2 separate regions of the Homo sapiens genome follow, and region 2 is linked to region 1. The links are contacts of gene promoters, found by promoter capture Hi-C in blood cells and fetal thymus (Javierre and others, 2016). All regions are on one chromosome and are shown on one strand. Each heading gives the region's core, a stretch centred on a gene start or on the middle of the fragment in contact. The rest is flanking DNA. Distances are from core to core; before and after follow the strand shown.

Region 1 (4,229 bases), core at 668-3,167:
TGAAACCCCATCTCTACTAAAAATACAAAAATTAGCCAGGTGTGGTCGCCCACGCCTGTAGTCCCAGCTACTAGGGAGGCTGAGGCAGGAGAATCGCTTGAACTGGGGAGGCGGAGGTTGCAGTGAGCTAAGATCATACCTCTGCACTCCAGCCAGAGCAACAGAGCAAGACTGTCTCAAAAAAAAACAAAAAAGAATTTTTGTACCCAGTGAATAACTGCTATGAAGAAACCTGAAAAAGAAAACAAGGATAAGGGAAACAATGAGGCAGCAGGGGTGAGACTGCACACAGCATTGTCAGGAAAGGCCTTTCTCCTAAGGTGACTGTAGGGAAGAGACTTTAAGGAACTGAAAAAGGAGGCCATGTGTTTTTCTTGGCCAAGAGTGTTCAAGGGAAAGCGAACAGCATATTCAAAGGCCTTGAGGAAGGAGGGTGCTAGAACAGCTGGCCAGAGCACAGTGAGCTGAGGACACGGGGAATAGAAGAGTTTAGTAAGGAAATGTGGGGCAGTTTATGTTGGGACTAGTAAAGCATGGCCAGAATTTTGAATTTTATCCCGACTGACATGTAAGAGCTACAAGAGAGGTTTGACTTATGAAGATCCCCACACTTGCTGCTATGGAGAAAAGTGAAAGGAAAAGTGGGGTGACCAGATATAGACACCGCAATAACTAGGGAGAGATGATGGTGGCTTTGATAGGATTATAGTGGTCAAGTTGGTGAGCTTCAGGTTCTGGATACATGCAGAGAACAGAGGCAACAGGATTTACAGATGAATTACATGAGACACGGAAGAATGACTCCGGGGCTTTAAGGTACTGAAAGTATGGATCTGCCATTTATTTAGACGTTGATGGTCATGGGGAGCTGAAGCTTGGTTTTAGACACAAGTAATGAAGTGCCTACTAAGACACCTGTTAAATAGAGAGGTCTAGCAGGCAGTTAGATGTATAGTTTTGAAGTCTACGAGAGACTCAGCTAGATATATAATCTTGGGAGTCAACACTTATTTGGAACTATATATTTGTTTAAAGTCTCCCAGGGAGTGAGTAAAGTTGGGAGAGGGTGCTATTGAATTGGAGGTATCGAAGATGAAATGGGATTAGCAAAGAAGAACGGGACGGAGGGACTCTTGAACGGACAACTACGGGAGTGATGTCACAGGTCATTTATCTGCCAAATTATTTTCGCTTAAGAGATTTCAGTCCTTCCAAAAAACCCTCAAGATAATTTTATGATTCAAGATTTCAGCGAATGCTGTAAGATAATAGACTGTGGCCGGGCGCGATTGCTCACGCCTGTAATCCCAGCACTTTGGGAGGCAGAGGAAGGGGGACTGCTTGAGCCCAGGAGTTCAAGATCAGCCTGGGTAACATAGTAAGAGCTCGCCTTTATTATTTTTTTAAAAAATAAAATATATTTAAGAGAACGCAGACTGAAACTTGAGATTTCTGAGTGGAATAATATCTTTTCCTTGCAGATTTTTTTTTGAAGAACAGAGCAGGGTACCCCGCGACCCAAGCCAAGACGCTCTCAGGAAGAAAGCCCAGCACGCAGCCGCCCTCGCACCCTGATTGCCCCCGGGGCGAGGTCCCCGGCTGGAGCAGGGCTGCAGAAGCCGGGAAGCAACGCCGAGGACCGAGCCGACCGATGGGCGCATGCAGTGAGGGGAACCGGGGCCGCCATGCCGGGCACGTTCCCAAAGGGTTGCACTGGGCGCTGCAGCGTGGGAAACCCCCGTGGCGGTCACCACTGGCGCTAGCTGAGGCGAGACTCACCTTGAGCCGTGGCCCCCTCACTGCTGTAACCCGGGTTCCATGGCTGCATGGACAGCTCAATTTTCATCAGAAGGGAGCCTCAAAATTCTAGCATACTGCGACCCAAAACTTACAAACCGCCTCAGCTGGCGACCTACCGGAAAAAAAAAAAAAAAGCATGCGGCGCATGCGCGTCCAAGGCCGCGGACCGGAAGCTGGGGCTCGCCTGTTGGGAGCCGCGTCCGCCGGTGTTGGTGTCTGCACTTGGAAGGACGTAGGGAATGCGTTGTCCCTGCTAGGTACTTTTCAGTCGCAGAGTTCTCTTCTTCTTCTTTCTTTCTTCCTTTTTTTTTTTTTTGAGACGGAGTCTCGCTGTGTCTCTCAAGCTGGAGTGCAGTGGCGCGATCTCGGCTCACTGCAGCCTCCGCCTCCTGGGTTCAAGCGATTCTCCTGCCTCAGCCTCCCGAGTAGCTGGGATTACAGGCGCCCACCACCATGCCCAGATAATTTTTGTATTTTTCAGTAGAAATGGGGTTTCACCATGTTGGCCAGGCTGGTCTCGAACTCCTGACCTCAGGTGATCCACCGGCCTCGGCCTCCCACAGTGCTGGGATTACAGGCCTGAGCCACCGTGCCCGGCCGGAGTTTTTCTACTTAATACCTCTCCATGCCAACCCCGTTGTCATTTCCCAGCGGCCGCCTCTATAACGGGCACTTTTCAGGGACAAAGAATTGGTCCGTTAATGTTCCTCAAATTCGAACGCGCCTAGGAATAGTTCGGGGATCCTGTTGAAGTGCAGATCAGGATTCCGTAGGTAGGGGTGGGGTTCCAAATTCTACATTTCTAGTATCTTCCCACACGATGGTGATCCTCCTTGTCCCTGAATCATGGAGGAGGGCAATTAGGGAGATGTGAGCCTGGATGCATGGTGGCCTTGGCTATCTTAGGTGTTCTTGCCCATTAACCAAGCTGGGAGGAACCGTGTGAATGCATATCTATCCCTGTTAATAAAAGGGTAGTTTGAAGGAGATGCTGACAGGAGAATAATTAGAAATGTTTTTCTTCCCAATCCAACTATATGCAATACACTTTATAATATTCATTTTAGAAATGTCATAGATAAGATTTGTAAACATTGACATTTAGCAATACTAAATATCACTGCTAGGTCTCCCCTCCACTTTTTTTTTTTAAACAAAAATACGACAGTATGTATTGTAGGTCTTCATAAACTACGTCTTCTGCATAGTGTTTCATGAGCGTTTTTCAATGTCATAATTTATTTTTTCCTCCAACATTTATTATGAAAAAATTCAAGTGTAAAGCGAAGTCGAGAGAATTTTACAGTGGAGCAGACCTCAAGAGAAGGGGAAGGATGGATTTCCCCTCTATTTAGCAGTGTCTGAAGACATTTTGGGTTGTCACAACTGGAAGGATGGTATTGGCATGGGGTAGGTAGAGCACAGGGATGTTCCTCAACTTCCTACAATGAACAGGACATCCCCCGACAACAACAAATTTGCTGGTCCAAAATGTTGATAGTGTTGAGGTTGAAAAACACTGACCTGGAGAGTACAGAATTTTACTCTACCAGCTTTGTCACATACCTCATCAATCTATCTGTTTTCATACATTTAAAAGTAAACTGCAGACAGTACGCTTCTAAGTACCTCTAATGCACATCATTGGAGTTCAAATTAAGGATTTTTTAAGGTAAAAATGAAATGCATACCTTAAATACACATCAGTTTTTAAATGCACACGCCTATGGAACTCAAGCCATATTAACATATAGAACGTTACCATCACCCTAGAAAGTTCTTTCATGCCCTTTCTTAGTTCCCAACCAGTTCTCCCCAAAGGTAACCACTGTTCTGATTTTTTCCCCCACCATACTTATTTTTCTTGTTATAGAACGTCATATGGTTGGAGTCATGCAATAGATATTTTTGTGTAAGGGTTCTTTCACTCAGGGTAATATTTTCATCTGATATCATGTGTATCACTTTCTTTTGATTGCTCAGTAGTATTCCATCATATGAATATACCAGTTCCATTCTTGTTTTGATAGAAACCTGGGCTGTCTTCAGTTTTTTGGCTATTATAAATAAAGCTGCTGTGAACGTTCTTATATAGCATTTTATTGCTCATGACTTTCTTTTCAATAAATATTTATCGAGCACTTACTATATTCCAGGCATTTCCAGGTACTAATTATAGCCATGAACAAGACAAAGATGTCGCATCTCTCAAAGAGCTTATATTTGCACATTTCTGTGTATGTATGAAGAGGGCTAAACATAAAGGTAAAAATAAAAGAAAATTATGGGCCGGGCACAGTGGCTCATGCCTGTAATCCCAGCACTTTGGGAGGCCAAGGCGGGCAGATTACCTGAGGTTGGGAATTCAAAACCAGCCTGACCAACATGAAGAAACCCCGTCTCTACTAAAAATACAAAAATTAGCTGGA
Region 2 (4,229 bases), core at 1,189-3,688, 2.2 Mb before region 1:
CAGACTTTGGAATGATGTTGTTTCCAGTAAAGTTTTGTTTTAATTATAAATAGGAATTTTCCAGCAATAAAAAATTTCCACCTTAAAAGATTCTCAGACTTTAGTACATCTTTCTCCAAACACAAGGTGGCGATGGTCTACAACAAATGATGTGCGACTTGGTGTTTTTTTTTTTTTTTTCTTTCCTTTCCTTTTTTATTCTTAATAGTTCAAGTTAAGAATTTGCAAAAGTTTCACATCTTCTCAATCATGTTTAATAAATTCTAATTAAATATTCTCCTACCTCCTAGTATTATGGAAAATATTTTAAAAATATTACAATGTTAAATGAATTTATTCTTGAGGGCATAATAAAATGCGTTTTTAAATCAACTACTTTTTAATTATGTGTTTGTATTACCATAAACAAAAATCCAATTAAACTTTAAAGAAAGAAAACTGCCTCTGACAAAATAATACTGTGGACCGCTTTTATTCATTACATTTGAGAACTTCTTGTCATTCAAATGAAAAGATTAAGTACATTTGCAATCCACTAAAACAGATTAAAAACTCATTCATTTATTCAATAGATATTAAGTACATACAGTATGTTTAGTATACATTAATACTTGACAATCAATACTGGTTAACTGGTTTCCCTGGTTTAGAAATTTTCCTTAGCAACAACGTAAGGCTTAAAATGAAAAAAGAAAAGTGAGAAAATGTTCTACCACCAGGTGGTGACAAAAGATAAAATTTAAAATCGCTCTTAATGAGCACATACTTCATGTAATTCTTGAATACTGCAAATATAAGTGACTTCCGAATGTCATGTGAATTTAAAATCATATTCTAGGAATATTTTATTAATTAAAGCAAATTAATATTAACATATTATCTCTAGTTTAATAAGTGCTGGAATTGGAAGTGGACAGTTTTAGTCAGCAGGCGGCACTTGAGACCATGGAATAAGATATTTTAAACTATTTCACTACTGCTTTTTTTCCCCACCCGGCTTATAATTATTGATTGGCTGATTGAGATAGGAGCTGGTCACCTCCCTACACTTCCACTAGCAGGGATTTAATCAGAGGCTGAAAATCAATTGTCCTTTGAAAGTGATTTTTGCTAAAGATCAAGAGCAATATTTGGTTATATCTCAGCCTCTATCCTACAATATTTATCATTTTATAATGCTCTTTTGTGTAAGATACAATAAATCTTATTAATAACCAAAAACTGAATTATGAATTATTGCAATTCATTGGCCATCTACTTGGGCAATTACAATGGTTAGTAGCTCAGAAGCACTGATATTTGAGCACTGTATCTTCAGATTCCGAGGCCTGGGTTAGGATGCTTGCTGCTGGAAACACTGGCTGGAAAGCTTTCTTGTTCCATGTGGCTCTCAGGTCACCCTGAGAACTGGACACACTCGTAATTGGTTGATGGTAGGCTTGTATATTCATGAAATGTTGATTGGAAAGGCCTAGACAATCTCTCTAAATACATAATTGGACAAGATTGTTGAAAGGATTAGAGTTGGACACTATTCTAAAGTGGCACAATGTCTAAGCATAGAGGCTGGGGGTCTTCCTGTTCCCTGCACTTAATACCCTGGGAGCTAGTGGTGGAGAGCCACGTAATCCACATTTGAATTCTGGCATTCTGACTGCTGCATCCTTACTTTGTGGCTTCAGGGAAGCCATGGATCATCCCTGAGCCTCAGCCTCCTCATATGTAAAATGGAGATGACAACAATCCTGACTTGAAGGATAATGCACCATTGTATTTGCTTCCTCCTCTGTCTCTTCCTTCCTAGTTACCCCCTCCTGTTTCCTAAACTTACTTGCCCTTGCCTCCCCACCTCTACAGGGACTGCATGCACACAAGCCCTTTTCTCAGGTTGTGCTTTCTGGGCTAAACTGAGTTGAAAACAAAGAGCATCAGGAGATCTTCTAGATGGGACTGCTCACTGATCAGAGGGCAGTAGAACCCGTTTGCTGGTGGTGAATGGAATGGGACCGCCCCCGGCATGCAGTGTCAGTGCAATGACAAAGAGTCTCTGTGTGGGATGAGGTGGTAGTATGGGGTGAGAAGCAGGTTTATGCAGCAGCAGCGGCACTTAGACAGTATGAGGAAAATAACAATTGAAAGGAACATGTCATTGGATGGGTTTTTGATAGTTGCTTCAGAGCAGGGGCTGGCAAGCTATGACCTTCAGGCTGACCATCTGTTCTTGTAAATAAAGTTTTACTGGAACAAAGTCACAATCATTTGCTTATGTATTTTTCATGGTTGCTTTCACAATACAAAGCAGAGTTGAATAATTGCAAAAGAGAGCAATGTCCACCAGTCCAAAATATTTGTTATCTGGCCCCTTCAAAAAAGTTTACCAGTGCCTGTTTTGAAGGTTATTTTGGAAATACAGAGATTATATACAGAGATTACATCGTTTTCTAACTTAATTTGAAGACATGCCATAAAAGTCACTTTTATCTCCTGCAATCAGAGAGCAGACGATGCTGAAAATCTAAAAATGTATAATCTTATAGTTGTTTTATATTAAAGTTAGGGTCCTAATAGAAAAACTATGGGATTCTGATACATAAAATGCAGACATTTGGATGGATGAGCCCCAGATTCTCCTAGACCCTGCAGAGGCAGATGTCACCCCCTTGCTAGAAGAGAACACCCTTTTTTGGCCTACAGACTGTAAAGTTCTCAGCAGAGGCAGGTGCCTCAGAAGGATACTTGTCCTGCTCATCTTCTGCCCCATTTCCCCCTCATTCCTAGCCTCTTAAAGTCTAAAATTTCTTCGGGAACTTTTGTTAAGAAACACTGACCATATGTATTAGTCAAGATTCTTCAGAGAGATAGAACATATGTATTTAATGAGATTATGAGGAATTGGCTCAGACGATTATAAGGCTGAGAAGTCCCAAGACCTCCTGTCACCATGCTGGAGACTCAGGAAAGTCAGTGGTTTGATTTTAGTTCAAGTCTGCAGGTCTGAGAGCCAGGGGAGTCGATGATATAAATCCCAGTCCAAGGACAGAAGAAGACTGATGTCCCAGCTCAAGCAGGCAGGAAGACAAAGGAGGGGAAATTCTGAAATTCCTCCTTCCTCTGTCCCTTTTGTTCCATTCAGAGCTTCAGTGGATTGGATCATGCCCACCCACATTGGGGAGAGCAGTCTACTCTACTGGAGTCCACTGATTCAAATGTTAATCGCATCTGGCGACATGCTTACAGACACACCCAGAAATAGTGTTTAATCTAGGCACCCCTTGGCCTGGTTAAGTTGACACATAAAATTAACCATCACACCATCTGAATTATATTTCATAAATATTTTCCAAATTTATAAAATGGAAGCAATAGTGTATGTATCTAATATTGAAAGCAATATATGTTGTAAATATAACATATAGCATATTGGAAGACCTCTCTCTCTCTCCATAGTAAAAATTCTGGGAATCTGGAGGGGTGATAGCCAAACCAAAACCAGGCCCAACTTCACTATGAAGCTTGGTGGTGGTTGTCCATTCAGGTTTAATATCAATCTGATATTGATTCTAGTCAGGTATCTGGCTGAGATTTCCAGGATAGCAACAATGATTCCAGGAATCTTTCAATTGTCTGTCTGATCTAGAGAGATTTGGTTTGAGGAATGCTCATTGTGTGTGTAGTAGGTGGAGATCTCACACTTCAGGTCCCATGTCCTGGCTTCCAGAGCAGCGGCTGCCTGCTGTTTCCTGCCAGACTGATTCTACCCTTTATGTCGCTCCTAACTTAAGAACTCCAGTCCACTCAAGAGAGCCAGCTGGCAGGGGAAGGGAACTAATTGCCAATGACTTTATAATTGAATGTATATTTTTCTACAGTTTTGCTGTGACAATAATAATAATGCCTGATATTTGTTGAGTGCCTACTATATACCATGCCTACTTTATATACATAAGCTAATTAATGCTCACATGTAGATTTATTGCTATTAATATCCCTATATCATTGATGAAGTTACTGAGGCAGAAGTTTGGCTAGCTCACACAGATAATAATTGATGGAGTCAGGTAATCTGTTCTTTTAAACTTTAACACAATGTACTGTATATACACCTGTATTTAAAACATTGTAAGGGTGATGTGGTGTAGAGAAGAAAGAGGACTAGGTTGAGAATCAAAGTATCCAATTCCAGGTTGCAGCCATTAGCTCAATGGCCTCAGTTACCAACTCTCTGGGTC

The links. The method cuts DNA at HindIII sites, captures the fragments that hold promoters and counts their contacts. A CHiCAGO score of 5 or more calls a contact.
Region 2: a fragment that was not itself captured here is called in contact with the fragment with the promoter of RWDD2B in region 1 in 1 of 17 cell types (fetal thymus); the score reaches 6.1 in fetal thymus.

Annotation. Positions count from the first base shown.
Region 1 is chr21:29,017,432-29,021,660 of GRCh38, forward strand. It overlaps RWDD2B (RWD domain containing 2B), which reads right to left and starts at 1,918. Exons shown (of 5, transcript NM_016940.3): 1 at 1,780-1,918. The coding sequence starts at 1,846. LOC124905005 (a long non-coding RNA gene) reads left to right here and starts at 155. Exons shown (of 2, transcript XR_007067836.1): 1 at 155-816; 2 at 1,482-3,897. RefSeq lists an enhancer at 1,759-2,008. The HindIII fragment of the contact is 4,408 bases long and covers 873-4,229 here.
Region 2 is chr21:26,849,501-26,853,729 of GRCh38, forward strand. No RefSeq gene overlaps it. Among named protein-coding and RNA genes, the nearest start is that of ADAMTS1, 6.2 kb to the left of the region's middle. RefSeq lists an enhancer at 2,841-3,408. The HindIII fragment of the contact is 2,143 bases long and covers 1,368-3,510 here.